5 separate regions of the Homo sapiens genome follow, and regions 1, 3, 4 and 5 are each linked to region 2. The links are contacts of gene promoters, found by promoter capture Hi-C in blood cells and fetal thymus (Javierre and others, 2016). All regions are on one chromosome and are shown on one strand. Each heading gives the region's core, a stretch centred on a gene start or on the middle of the fragment in contact. The rest is flanking DNA. Distances are from core to core; before and after follow the strand shown. Region 1 has its middle 1.5 kb from the start of KLHDC1. Region 2 holds the start of FKBP3 (FKBP prolyl isomerase 3). Region 3 overlaps LRR1 (leucine rich repeat protein 1). Region 4 holds the start of RPL36AL (ribosomal protein L36a like). Region 5 has its middle 5.9 kb from the start of RPS29.

Evidence for each region. Contacts are between HindIII fragments. The CHiCAGO score rates a contact against its expected background, and 5 or more counts as called.
Region 1: a contact is called between a fragment that was not itself captured here and the fragment with the promoter of FKBP3 in region 2, in 1 of 17 cell types (fetal thymus). The highest score is 7.8, in fetal thymus.
Region 3: a fragment that was not itself captured here is called in contact with the fragment with the promoter of FKBP3 in region 2 in 1 of 17 cell types (naive B cells); the score reaches 6.1 in naive B cells.
Region 4: a contact is called between the fragment with the promoter of RPL36AL here and the fragment with the promoter of FKBP3 in region 2, in 1 of 17 cell types (total B cells). The highest score is 5.0, in total B cells.
Region 5: a fragment that was not itself captured here is called in contact with the fragment with the promoter of FKBP3 in region 2 in 2 of 17 cell types (naive B cells and total B cells); the score reaches 5.7 in naive B cells.

Annotation. Positions count from the first base shown.
Region 1 is chr14:49,690,300-49,692,999 of GRCh38, reverse strand. No RefSeq gene overlaps it. Among named protein-coding and RNA genes, the nearest start is that of KLHDC1, 1.5 kb to the left of the region's middle. The HindIII fragment of the contact is 1,970 bases long and covers 389-2,358 here.
Region 2 is chr14:45,133,066-45,135,765 of GRCh38, reverse strand. FKBP3 (FKBP prolyl isomerase 3) reads left to right here and starts at 1,285. Exons shown (of 7, transcript NM_002013.4): 1 at 1,285-1,417. The coding sequence starts at 1,310. RefSeq lists enhancers at 345-1,215, 1,309-1,528, 1,216-2,087 and a silencer at 1,162-1,339. The HindIII fragment of the contact is 3,907 bases long and covers 1-2,594 here.
Region 3 is chr14:49,600,414-49,603,113 of GRCh38, reverse strand. LRR1 (leucine rich repeat protein 1) reads right to left here. Exons shown (of 4, transcript NM_152329.4): 2 at 646-744. It also overlaps the pseudogene RHOQP1. Among named protein-coding and RNA genes, the nearest start is that of LRR1, 2.8 kb to the right of the region's middle. The HindIII fragment of the contact is 1,015 bases long and covers 895-1,909 here.
Region 4 is chr14:49,619,357-49,622,056 of GRCh38, reverse strand. It overlaps RPL36AL (ribosomal protein L36a like), which reads left to right and starts at 1,431. Exons shown (of 2, transcript NM_001001.5): 1 at 1,431-1,495. It overlaps MGAT2 (alpha-1,6-mannosyl-glycoprotein 2-beta-N-acetylglucosaminyltransferase), which reads right to left and starts at 1,258. Exons shown (of 1, transcript NM_002408.4): 1 at 1-1,258. The coding sequence starts at 788. RefSeq lists silencers at 767-876, 1,177-1,386 and enhancers at 608-1,158, 1,547-1,656. The HindIII fragment of the contact is 17,089 bases long and covers 1-2,700 here.
Region 5 is chr14:49,579,095-49,581,794 of GRCh38, reverse strand. It overlaps a transcript of RPS29 not described here. Among named protein-coding and RNA genes, the nearest start is that of RPS29, 5.9 kb to the left of the region's middle. RefSeq lists an enhancer at 102-221. The HindIII fragment of the contact is 254 bases long and covers 1,307-1,560 here.

The sequences.
Region 1 (2,700 bases), core at 124-2,623, 4.6 Mb before region 2:
GGGACGTTCTGGCTCCTCGCAGTGGGCAAGGGGCCTGGGCTTTCCACGCGCAGATTCCTTCTCTCTTGGAATTGTGTTTTGGCAGTACAGCCTCATTTAGTAGTCAGTCTGTAGTCAGATTCCTTGATTATCTCAAAATGTCTTTTCTATAGTTGGTTTGTTCAGCACCGTAATTCGTTGTTAACGCCTCTTAAGACTTTACGTCTGTTTTACTCTAGAATAGCTTCTCTCCCTTCTCTCTTGTGCCATTTGTTTGTTATATGGATTAGTTTTCTTATTTTCCTACAGCCGTACCACCTTCTGGGTTTGGTTCCTCAGTGTCTTTTCTCATTAACTTGTGCATCCTTTCCCCATACTTCTTTTAGGCTGGAAGCTGTATCTAAAAGCTTTATTAGATTCTAGTTCAGATTTTTTTTTGGAAAATACTTCATATTGCATCACATTAGAAGGCACTTAAGTCTGGTGCACTTTAATGATACTTTCTATTGTTTATTTTTGACTATACAAATAAACAGAGTATCTGCTCCTTTTCTTACACAAAAGGAAGTATATACAGTGTTCCTTAACTTTCTCTTTTCACTTGACGATCCATATCAGGATACAGCAAGCAGTCTCCTCAGTCCTTTTCATAGCTTCATAGCACTCCACCGATTGGATGTGTCATAGCTTATTCAAACAGATTCTTATTGATGGACATATCGGTTATTTCCAGGTTTTTTTGGCTATCATAAATAATGCTGCGATGAAACGTTATGCATATGTTATTTTGTATTTGTACAAGCCTATCTTTGGAGTAGAGTTCTAGATGTGGAATTGCTGGGTCAGAGGATAAATGCATATTTAACTTTACAAATGTAACTGGATTGCAGTGGCTCACGCCTCTCATCTAAGCACTTTGGGAGGATGAGGTAGGCGGATCACTTGAGCTCAGGAGTTTGAGACCAGCCTGGCCAACCTGGGCAATCCCGTCTCTACTAAAAATACAAAAATTAGCCGGGCGTGGTGGCGCATGCCTGTAATCCCAGCTACAAAGGCAAGAGAATCGCTTTAACCCGGGAGGTGGAGGTTGCAGTGAACCGAGATCGCGCCACTGCACTCCGGTCTGGGCGACAGAGCAAGGTTCCTTAGAAAGAAAGAGAGAAAGAGAGAGAGAGGGAAAGGGAGAGAGAAAGAAAGAAAAAGGAGGAAGGGAGGGAAGGAAGAAGGGAGGGAGGGAGGAAGGGAGGAAGGAAGGAAGAAATTCAAGATAGACAAAAGTGATCTATGATAATAGAAAGCAGAAAAGTGGTCATTTGGGAGTAGGGAGGGGGAGGGGACTGATGGAAAGGAGTACAGGAAGTGTTCTGGAGTGATTAAAATGTTCTGTATCTTGATTGAGGTGGTGGTTACATGGGTGTATACATTTATCAAAATGCATTGAACTGCATACAGATATGTGCATTTTACTTAGTGTAAACTATATGTCAATCATAATTCTCACTCCATCACTTTATTGTTACTAGTAATATTGGTATTGTATTTTTGAAATGGAGCATTTGTCCTCCTGGACTGTAGAGTCTGGTGGAGTCTATAGACCAGCAAACAGACAATTACCATACCGTGCAGTAAGTGTGAAAATAGCAAAAGTCCAGGGCACCTTGGGTGTACAGAGGCCCTTTAACTCAGATTGAGGGAAGACAGGGAAGGTTCCTGAGAGAAAGTAAAGTCTAAGTTAAGAACTGAATGATGAACGGAAGTTGTTCAAGGAACTTTCATTCGTGAGAGGGAAGAGTCAAGGATATGCCTAGTTTACCAGCTTGGTCACTGGGTGGGAGGTGGGTGGAGCCCTTCGCTAGGTTATTGAACATGGGAGGAGGAACAGGTTTGGGGGAGGGCAGGGCTAATGGTGAGTTCATTTGGAGGCATATTGAGTTGGATTTGAAGTCTAAGAGAGCTAAGGGCTAGAGATAGGGATTTTGGAGTCATCAGCATATAATTGTTCATTTAAGTATTGGGACTTTATGAGCTGGCCAGGTGAAGGAGCCATAGAAGAAGTTGAAAATTTATTAGAGAAAGAGAATTATGATTGGGAACATTTATGGGAAAAGGGGAATTGTGAGGTCAGATTGTGAGAGAAAGCTGGGCAACTGGAATTGATTATTTTCTCTCCAATTTCTTAATATAAAAAGTAGCAAACCAAAAAAAGTTGAAAAAATAGTTCAAAGAGTACCTGTGTATCTTCCACTCCAGGTTAATAATTATTAATACTACCATACTAGCTTTATGTTTGTTGGTATGTGTGTGTCTGTCTTTTTCATTTTGTTGAATTATTTGAGAGTGGGAGTGCCTTATGGAGAAAATACATGTGATAAATAAGCTTCCTTCAGCTATGAGTTATAGGGCTCTTGGCCCTGAGTTCAGTGTTAACGAATCACAATGTAAAGATGTCTTTACATAAAAACACACATAAAACAAGGTTATAGGCCGGGCGCGGTGGCTCACGCCTGTAATCCCAGCACTTTGGGAGGCCGAGACGGGGGGATCACGAGGTCAGGAGATCGAGACCATCCTGGCTAACACGGTGAAACCCCGTCTCTACTAAAAATACAAAAATTAGCCGGGCATGGTGGCGCGCGCCTGTAGTCCCAGCTACACGGGAGGCTGAGGCAGGAGAATGGCGTGAACCCGGGAGGCGGAGCTTGCAGTGAGTCGAGATCGCGC
Region 2 (2,700 bases), core at 36-2,535:
TGTTTTGTTTTAACAAACTCTAAATTTAAGTTCCGTTTCCAATGATTAGATGGCTGGGCGTCATTGCTAACGTGATAAATCACTTAAAATGTTATAATAGAGATTTATTGTAAAATATTACATACCCGGGGACAATGGAATAGCCACCAGTTTGGGAACTTAATGTTATTGAGCGTCTAACGTGCCTCATTCCTTGTACTTTTAAATCAGAATATAAAGTGAAAAGCAAAAATGTGTAGATGGAATAATTTGTCTTATATCTCTATCTGGGCTGAGAAAACAAAATGCCAAGTCTCTTTTTCACCGCGCTGGGAGTGGCAACCCATTATTTTAATATTTTCATTGTTTAAAGGGAAGTGAACGTGGTCTGGTCCAGCTATTCGTCAGAATTTTTTTTTTTAATGCTCCTTGCAAAGCAGAGCTAACTCATAGGCAACATGCCCAGAGTCAGCCTACATTTTTTTAAGTAAGGAGTCCTGATGTTCAACTATTAAATCTTTATTATAGGTAAGAGCATTATAATAAACGTCGGTGTGCAATTATTCCACTCTAACGAAGATTTCTGTCTCAAATAATTCCTGACTTCTCTCTAAACCTGACTTTGAGTAACCTCTGTAAATTTGTTTCCTCGTGTACTGAGAAAAAAATATACATCACAGAGTTACGAGCATTAATAATGTCATTCTCATCAGCAAGTGGCATCCTGAGTGCGGCTTCTTTATAAATTGTTTTATTTGTTAAAGTTTCTGAACTTCGTTTTGGACAAACTTTCTCGTATTTGTATGGGGGGAAGGGGATGGGCAGTTTGTATTTAAGTTTCGGTTGTGTGATCTTTAAAAGGGAAATGGTGGGATATGGGTTTTCGGATCGACAAGGACTGAAGCACTTCAGGTGTGACTTTTTAGGCTAGAACTAGATAAAACGAGATAAGGAGCCTGAATGCTGTTTTCTTTTAACAGGTTATAGACTGGACTTTAAAGGCATAGCTGCCTTAAATGTGGGTAATGGTTGATAAATGTCGCTACCATCAGAGGTCGCTTCACAAGGTGTCTAATTCAGAATCGAAGATCTCTAGCGGTCTTCTACTCAGTCGACTGCAGAGACGACCGCGGTAGGTTTTTCAACCCGGACTCAACAAAGAAGCCCTCATAGCACAGCCTTGACGTCACTCAAAGACAGGCCCCAATCCCGACTGCTAGAGCAGAGGCCCGCCCCTCGACCTCCGTGAGTGGCCCCGCCCCGCCCTAGGGGGCGGGGCGATGCCGAACTGCGGCGGGCTGGCTCAGTAAAGCGGAGGCAGCGGGGGAAGATGGCGGCGGCCGTTCCACAGCGGGCGTGGACCGTGGAGCAGCTGCGCAGTGAGCAGCTGCCCAAGAAGGACATTATCAAGTTTCTGCAGGAACACGGTTCAGATTCGGTACCAGAGGCGTAGGGGCGGCCGGGCTGGTGCGGCTGAGGGACGCCTCACCCCCCTGGAGATGCCCATACATTCCGTATTCCTCTGTGCCCCCGCCCTCGTCTTCCCGCGGCCGGTGGCCTGGAAGGCCGGAGAGGCCCAGCTTGTGCTTTGGTGCCTCGCTCCCGCCTCTCGGGCGTTCTCTACTGGGGCAGGGGAGCAGCTTTATTTCTTGGGGCACACAGGCTGCAATTGTAGAGTTAGAACCTCATTGGGATCCTTGAGTGGGGGTGGAGGCCAGAAAAATAGGAACCCGAGGATATTGGGGGCTAGGGCGGAGAGGCCGAGGAATAGTGGTGTGGATGAGACTCCTGGGAGCGGGGCGCCGGCTACTAGGGAAATGGGAAGGGATGTGAAGATTTCTGTGGGAACGGTGTATCCAACTTGCTTTTCTCAACAGTTTACTAAATACTGAACATTAATGCGTGTGATTTTTAAAAAATCCGTAGGTTGTGGTTTAAGTTTTGATTTAACATATCGACCCTTTAAATGACCTTTTCACCTTTATACTTTAAGGGAGCTACATGCACATTTCTCTTGTGCAGTGGTCTGTCATTGTTATAAACAGACTAAGAAATTTATTTGAAATGCTTTATACTGTAGGCTCTCCATTTGTCAGCATAGTCTCCATCTTAACCATCCGTCTATAGTCAAGTTATTTTTGTTACACTTGTTTTTCCTTTGGAAAATAAGTTCATTCATGCACCTGTTAAATTGCTGAAATAGTTGTGCACGCAGCATTCTCTTACAAGCGGCAGCCTGCTTGTGTTTTCTATACAATTTTTAAAATTCTAAACTTTTCATTTAGAAAAACTGTTTCTGGGTTTTTTTGTTTGTTTGTTTGAGACGGAGTCTCTCTCTGTTGCCCAGGCTGGAGTGCAGTGGCGCGATCTCGGCTCACTGCAACCTCCGCCTCCCGGGTTCAAACGATTCTCCTGCCTCTGCCTCTCGAGTAGCTAGGACTACAGGCGCGTGCCACCACGCCAGGTTAATTTTTTGTATTTTTAATAGAGACGGGATTTCACCGTGTTAGTCAGGATGGTCTCGATCTCCTGACCTCGTGATCCGCCCGCCTCGGCCTCCCAAAGTGCTGGGATTACAGGCGTGAGCCACTATTTCTGGGTTATTTTGAGAAGCTTATATTTTATTTTCATTTTGGGCGGGCGTCATGACAGGGAGATAGAAGAACTCTCCAACTTCCAGTGCCTTCTTCCTTAATTATTATCCTGGCATCCGCATCTTAG
Region 3 (2,700 bases), core at 153-2,652, 4.5 Mb before region 2:
CAGCATTTTGGAAGGCTGAGGTGGGTGGATCGCCTGAGTTCAGGAGTTCAAGACCAGCCTGGTCAACATGGTGAAACCCTGTCTCTACTAAAGATAAAAAAAAAAAAAAAATCAGCCACGCATGGTGGTGGGTGTCTGTAATCCCAGCTACTCGGGAGGCTGAGGCAGGAGAATTGTTTGAACCCGGGAGATGGAGGTTGCAGTGAGCTGAGATCGTGCCACTACACTCCAGCCTGGGCAGCAAGAGCAAAACTCCGTCTCAAAACAAACAAACAAACAAACAAAAAAAGCAAGCAAGCAAGCAAATACACGCCAGGCCAAGTATGGTGGCTCATGCTTATAATCCCAACACTTTGGGAGGCTGAGGCAAGAGGATCGCTTGAGGCCAGGAGTTCAAGGCCAGTCTGGGCAACATCATATCAAGACTCCGTCTCTACAAAAAGTTATTTTAAAAATTTATCCGGGAGTGGTGAGGTACACCTTTAGTCCCAGATATTCAGGAGGCTCGCTTGAGCCTAGGTGTTTGATGCAGTGAGCTATGACTATGCCTCTGTACTTCAGCTTGGGTGACAGAACAAGACTCTGTTTCTAAAAAATAAAGAAAATACAGCCAAATATTAATCATTAATGTTTTTAATACCATACCTTACTTAGACAGATATCCACAGGAGGCTCCTTTAACCGAACAGTGGCTTTCCCCTCATCTACAAATTTGGTGAAGAATTGCTCAATGTTCTCCCTTAGCTGCATAAAACCAATAGAAAAAAAAGAAGAAAACTAATTATTGTTACTCAGTAACATTTATTACAACTAGAATGTGCCAGTTACTTTGCCAGGCTTTGGTTTGGCTTTTAGTCCTTGAGTCTGAGTGTTTTCATTTTAAGTTTTAAAGCTTTTTATCACGCCACTGCACTCCAGGCTGGGCAACAGAAAGAGACTCCTTCTCAAAAAAAAAAAAAAAAAAAAAAAAAAAGTTGTTTTTTTTTGAGACAGAGTCTCACTCACTCTCACCCAGGATGGAGTGAAGTGGTGCCATCACTGCAACCTCCACTTCCCAGGTTCAAGCAATTCCCATGACTCAGCCTCCTGAGTAGCTCGGATTACAGGTGCGTGCCACCATGCCCGGCTAATTTTTGTATTTTTAGTAGAAACACGGTTTCATCATGTTGGCCAAGCTGGTCTAGAACTCCTGGCCTCAAGTGATCTGCCTGCCTGGGCCTACCAAAGTGCTGGGATTACAGGCATGAGCCACGGCGCGTGGCCAAGTTTTAAAGTTTTTTTTTTTTTTTTTTTTTTTAGCAGTTGGGAAGTTATACTCCTCATCTAGCTGGTGGTGGATGTTACTGCTCTGTCTGTCCAGTAACTCTCCTTTGAGAACAGGATCACCATGTTTTGAGAGAATGCTCCTTTTCTCCCATTCCAACTATGTAACTGTAGGAAGAGTTGCCAATAGCAGTTACTTGCCTTCATAACTTCAGTCCATTAGCCTGGGGTGGGCACACCTCCCAGTAGGTTATATACAAACTCCATGAGAGCAGGAATCTTGTCTCCTTTGCTATTCTATCCTGAGTGCTAGAACGATGACTGACACATAATGAGTGCTCAAAAAAAATTTAATGATTATCATCTATATAAATGGCATATTTAAAATTTAAAAAAAATTAATGATTGCTGTTGCATCTGCTTTAGATTTCAACAACTATTGATTCAGAACCCACTATGTACCAGGTACTCTAATAGGGGCTTGGGACATAGCAATGAATAAGACTGACAGGGTAACTACACTTAAAGAGTTGACAATCTGATGAGAGATAGTTATTAAACAAGTACTTATAAGCATAACAAATATCAAGACAAGGCAAGTGCAGGATGCTGTGACCTGATTTTTTTTAAGAAAGCACATTAAGCTTTAATATAGAAATATTTAGGTTACACTTGTGCTCAAGTAATAAAACATTTGTTCTTTTTTGATCTCATACATTCTCTCCTCAGGTATGGCCCATCTCCTGTACGCTTGGAGCGACCTTTGGCTACGTGGCTGGCCTTGTTATTTCACCACTCTGGGTATGCTGGAATAGAAAGCAACTTACATACAAGAACAATTAACTGGAGAAAAGGGAGATATTTCTTTGTGCAGATTCTGTAAGGGCTGTGCAGAAATGTGTATGGTCAAAGCCAAGCAGTTCCATCTACAGCTCTGTTTTTTATGTAGTTACAACATGATGTGATTGTAGCTTTTTAAACTATGAAACCCCTGAGAGATTGTACCTTCTAGTTGAAATAAAGTATTTATAATAGATTGTGGCTTCAGATGCTGCTTACTGCTTCTTAAATCTTTAAGGAACATTCTTAATAAACTTTACAGAATTCTGAGGACAGGTTTTGTTTTCTTTCAAGTTTTGAACTGCTTCATTACCTATAAAAGGTCTGGGTATAGCTGCAGCATTTCATTTGCTTTCTGAGAGAAATGGACAGTTTCCTTGGCCACTGAAGATGTTTCTCACGTAATTAAACAACAGTTTATACATCTTGATCCTATTCTTTTTTTTTTACAGTGTGTTTCTTTGGAGTTAAAATGGCTATGATAGCCTCATCAAAAACAGTCTTCAATCCCTTCTGGGTTAAAGCTGAACATTCCACATAGCAGCATGCTCCTATCTCTTTTGCTAGTTTCTGTCCTTGTTCCACACATATAGGTTT
Region 4 (2,700 bases), core at 182-2,681, 4.5 Mb before region 2:
TAGTGATCCTCTTCTAGGAAAAGTATAAGGCCAGCATAATCTCGAAGAATTTTCACTCTTTCCCACACAAAATGCAGCTTCCACCACCAGTGATGTTTGGTCTGGGAGAATTTGGCCTCTCTATAATGGCCGAAGGAGTCGGGATACTCAGCATTGATGCACCCCAATTTCAAAGCGGCATTCTTCGGCAGGTCTCTGGGACAATCTCTAGGGTCACTACCTGGAAACTCGTTAGGGTACAACTGAATGCTGAAAGGAAAGAACACCTGCAGAACCGGACAGAAATTCACCCCGGCGATCAGCTGATTGATCTCGGTCGACCAGAAGTCATGGCTAAAGATGACGAGGACGTTGTCAATTCCCTGGGCTTTTCGAAGTGAGTCCAGCAGCAGTCTGAGGTATTCGGGCCGGTTATGCACCTGGACCACCAGCACCAGCTCCCGGGGGGCCCAGGTGCCAGCCTTATCTACATTCCTCAGGGTCTGATCAAAGTTCAGCTGGTACACCAGGGACCGGTACCGCAGCGTCAGGTTGTCCGCCTCGGGCTGGGGGACCGCCGGGACCAGGGAAGCCGCCGACACGTTGGAGACCCTGCGGATGCCCACAGCCACAGAGGGGTGGTCCCCACCGCGGCCGCCGGCACCCCGCGCGGGTTCGGCGTCCAGCAACGGTGGGGCGAGGGCCTCGTTCTTCCTTTGTCGCCCATTGCTGCTCCAGAGGACGAAGCCGCAGGCGGCCACCACGAGCGTCAGGATTAGCACCTTCCGTTTGTAGATGCGGAACCTCATGGTCTCCAGGGCCGGGAGCGCAGGCGGGCGGGCGCGGAAAGGAGCAGCTGCTTCTGCACGGAAGGGGCGGGCGGGCGGCGGCCGTCGCCTTGGCCTGTCACGGTCGGAACTGGCCCCCGCGGCTGCCCTCGCTAACTCATCCCGGGCCCCGGGGGTCCTGGGGCCCGAGACCTCTCATTTACCCCGCGCCGCCTGCGCTCCACACATCCTCGCCTGGCAGCTACAGCTCGAGCATCGGCGCCGCCGCTAGGAGCCGCGGCTCGGCTTCGTCTCCGTCCTCTCCATTCAGCACCACGGGTCCCGGAAAAAGCTCAGCCGCGGTCCCAACCGCACCCTAGCTTCGTTACCTGCGCCTCCAGCGGCCCTGCGTCCTCTGCGCTCTCATCCTTACAGGGGCCCTAGACGGCCAGAACTGAGCGACGCGGCCTCGCCTCACTCCGGCGGGGACCGTTATGACAACCCGCAACTGCCCCGCGGCACACCGCGGCCCTCCGGCCCACACCCCTCCGGCCCGCCCCTTAGACCGTTGGTTGGTGCTTTCCAGACGCGACCGAAGGCGCCTGACCGCCGTGGCCGGCTGCCTATTGGTTTGCAGTACTGTCGCTCAGGTGCAGTTCCCACTTCCGCCTGTTTCTTCCCTTTCCTGTTAGGCGAGAGCTGCGAAAGGCGAGAGCTGCGAAGGGCCAGGTGTCGGGCGCTGTTTCTCGGTAAGCTAAGAACGAGGCTGTAGCGGCTCCAATAGGAGCCTCCCTTGCTCAGAATCCTGGGTAGGACTAGGCCTTCTTAGGAAAGGGAAGGCGAGACCTATGGCCCTCGCCGGCCTTAGTTCGAGAGCAGGCTTCTCCCTTCAGGAAAAAGGTCTCAGGCATGGCGGCTATAGAATCGCGGGGCGCGCCGGCTTGATAAGGACACGTCAGCCCTCGAGGCTGCTGACGGGTGACTGTGCTTCGGAGGGGAAAAGTGATACTACGCTGATGTGGTTCTCGTAGAAGGAACGGGGCGGGTCGTAACCGTAGCTACAACGTCGCGCGCTGCCCCAGCCATTCTCTAGAGCTGGAAAATGGAGGAGGTGGGTGGGGGGAAGGGGGTCAAAGAAACTCTGGTCCTTAACTTCCTTTTCGGAAGAAAATTAGATGAACCGCACTTTTCTTTTGGAGCAGTCACAATAAATTAAACTCATTTCGTACGGAAAACGGACTGTATTGGGCCTCCTAAAGCTGCTGCTGTCGGTTTTCGTGAGTCTTGTTCTATATGAGAAAAGAAGAATGGCTCGGAGCATTGTTAATTATTTGAGATGTGCAAAATTTGCCGGGCCCAGAGAGACAGCAGTATGGGACTTCAGACACCTCCCCACTTAATGCCTGGCATTTTATTCCTGACTAGCTGCTTCACCCATTATGTCCGCGTTCCTGGAATTTGTCATGAAAAGAATGATGTATAGCCAATCAATCGCTTGTGTTATTTTAATGTAAATTCTTGGTAGACAATTTAGGAACTGCCATTTTTTCCTCTAAAAACCCACTTGCAACTGCTGCTACTCAGGGCATTTTGAATCTGTGCTCTGGGTTGCAATCCTCAAACTTGCCCCAAATAAACATTCTACTTATATGAATTGTGCCTCAGTTCTTTTTTTTTTTTGAGACGTAATTCCGCTGTTGTTGCCCAGGCTGGAGTGCAATGGTGCGATCTCGGCTCACGGCAACCTCCGCCCCTCCCCACCCCGCCCAAGCGATTCTCCTTACAGGTATGCACCACCACCACGCCAGGCTAATTTTGTATTTTTAGTAGAGACGGGGTTTCTCCATGTTGGTCAGGCTGGTCTCGAACTCCGGACCTCAGGTGATCCGCCCTTCTCGGCCTCCCAAAGTGCTGGGATTACAAGCATGAGCCACCGTGCTCGGCCTTGCCTCAG
Region 5 (2,700 bases), core at 184-2,683, 4.4 Mb before region 2:
GGTCTCTCAAAGTGTTGGGATTACAGGTGAGCACCACTACAGCCAGCCTTACTGTGGGAGACAAGGTTTGTTGAAGGAACCGATACAGGAGATAGGAGTAGATAATGACTCTTAGGGGCTGGGCGTAGTGGCTCACTCCTGTATTCCCAGCACTTGGGGAGGCCTAGGCGGGAGAATAGCAAAAATTTAAAAGAGAAAATTAGCCGGGTGTGGTTGTGCACGCCTAGCTACTTGGGAGGCTTGTGCCACTGCACTCTGGGCAACAGAATGAGACCCAGTCTAAGAATGACTCCAAGGATTTTGGCCTGAGCAACTGGAAGGATAGAATTGCTGTTGAGATAGGCCTTTCCAGGTTTGGGAAGAATAGAAAGTTCAATTTGGACATGTTGACTTTGAGACTTGTCTTAGACATCCAAGTAGAATCTGTTTTAAGCAGTGACGTGAGTGATCAACTGTATTGTGTGCCTTTGATTAAGACAGAATTGGTAACCCCAGTTTTATCTGAGAGGAGGGGAAGTGTGACAGAAGGGAAGCTGGAATGGAAAGAGCATCTTAACTGGTTGCAGCTAAATTATCTTTGCCAATTTTTTTTTCTTTTTTTTTTGAGATAGAGTTTTGCTCATGTTGCCCAGGCTGGAGTGCTGCAGTGGCTTGATCTTGGCTCACTGCAACCTCCGCCTCCCAGGTTCAAGCAATTCTCCTGCCTCAGCCTCCTGAGTAGCTGGGATTACAGGCATGCGCCACCATGCCCGGCTCATTTTGTATTTTTAGTAGAGATGGGGTTTCTCCATGCCGGCCAATGGCTGTTCTCGAACTCCAGACCTCAGGTGATCTGCCTACCTTGGCCTCCCAAAGTGCTGGGATTACAGGCGTGAGCCACCGCACCCAGCATTTTTTTTTTTTTTCTTTTGAGACGGAGTCTTGCTATGTCACCCAGGCTGGAGTGCAGTGGCATGATTTCAGCTCACTGCAACCTCTGCCTCCCGGGTTCAGGCGATTCTCCTGCCTCAGCCTGCCAGGTAGCTGGGATTACAGGTGTGCCTGTACAGGTCTGCCACCACGCCTGGCTGATTTTTTGTATTTTTAGTAGAGGCAGGGTTTCACCATGTTGGCCAGGCTGCTTTTGAACTCCTGACCTCAGGTGATCCACCCACCTCAGCCTCCCAAAGTGCTAGGATTACAGGCATGAGCCATCGCTCCTGGCCGCCAATTTTTTGAAAACATGTGATTGAACACATTCCTAGTATACTTGCCTTAGAAGGAGCTTGTAGAAGTTAGGGATACTGGAGTTTAAGTTTCATAAGCTTCATAGTAAATCCACCTGTGCTCCTAACCCTGAACCCCAGGTGTATGTGATGATAAAGTTGGTGTTGGGGAAGTGTCTAGGAAAGAGCCAGGTTTCAGTCTGGGTAAGGAGGTGGGAAGAATATTGGGAGATGAGGTTGAGGATGTAGAAAAGATTTATTGGTAATGGGATGAGCTGGTATTGCAGATAGAGTGGATGAGAAGCTGTGTCAGCTAAGCAAATGTAAAAAAGTTTGGGAGATGATGAGAGAAGCTTACATATGTAGTGGTGAGTTAGGTCAAAAAGGGTGTGATATGTGTTTGATTTGGTCATGAGAGTCTCTTGGATGGGCTGGGCTCTGGTCCAGTGTGATGGCCTGGTATAAATTCTGTAAGAGACGTGCAGTGCCTTAGGTAATGGAAGGGAAACACTCCCTAGACAGTCCTATCCCTGTGTATACATGGTGGTAGTGAGTGGGAAGGCTGCTGTGGATAGGTGGTCTAAGTGCTTTATGCACATTGCCTTTTTCCAGTCTTAGAGTACTTTTCAGCAGGTATTATCATCATTACATAGCCAAGGAAACTGAGGCTTAGAGATTAAGTAATTTCCCCAAGGTCTCCCAAAGAAAGAGACAAAACGACTGGAACTGGGTCTGTCTGAAATCAGTGCCTATGCTCTTAATATTCACAACACACTTATTGTATGGTTAGAGGACTATGCATCTCTTATTCCCAAAGATCACTTAGTTACTTGAGGGCAGGAGTAAGTGTTTCCTTTCATATTTACATGCATACCAAGCACATAGCAAGATGCCTTGTAGATTAATAGGTCCTCATTTGTTGGGGAATTGAACTAAATTACTTAGTAAAAGCTCAATAAGTGTTGATGGCAAAAGATGGTAGGTGCTATAGGAGAGGCCCAAACAACCATTGGAACATAGAGGATCTATTCTTTGTTTTTCAAAATTTATTGTAGAGACAGGGTCTTGCAGTGTTGCCCAGGTTGGTCTTATACTCCTGGCCTCAAGTGATCCTCTTGCCTTGGTCTCCCAAAATGCTAGGACTACATGTGTGAGCCACCACTCTGGCAGAGGATATATTCTTAGGTTTGGATTCTGTCTTAGTGTCTTTGGGCCACTGTAACAAAATCCAGTAGACTGAGTGGCTTAAATAACAGACATTTATTTCTCACAGTTCTGGAGGCTAGGAAGTCTGAGATCAAGGTGCTGGTAGATTTCATGTCTGGTGAGAGCTGTTTCCTGACTCATAAATGGTGCCTTCTCATTGTGTCCTTACATGGTGGATAGGGCAAATGAGCTTTCTTGGGCTTATTTTATAAGGGAACTACTCCCATGAGGGTTGACCTCTCATGACCTAATCTCTTTCCAAAATGCCCCACCTCCTACAACCCACAGG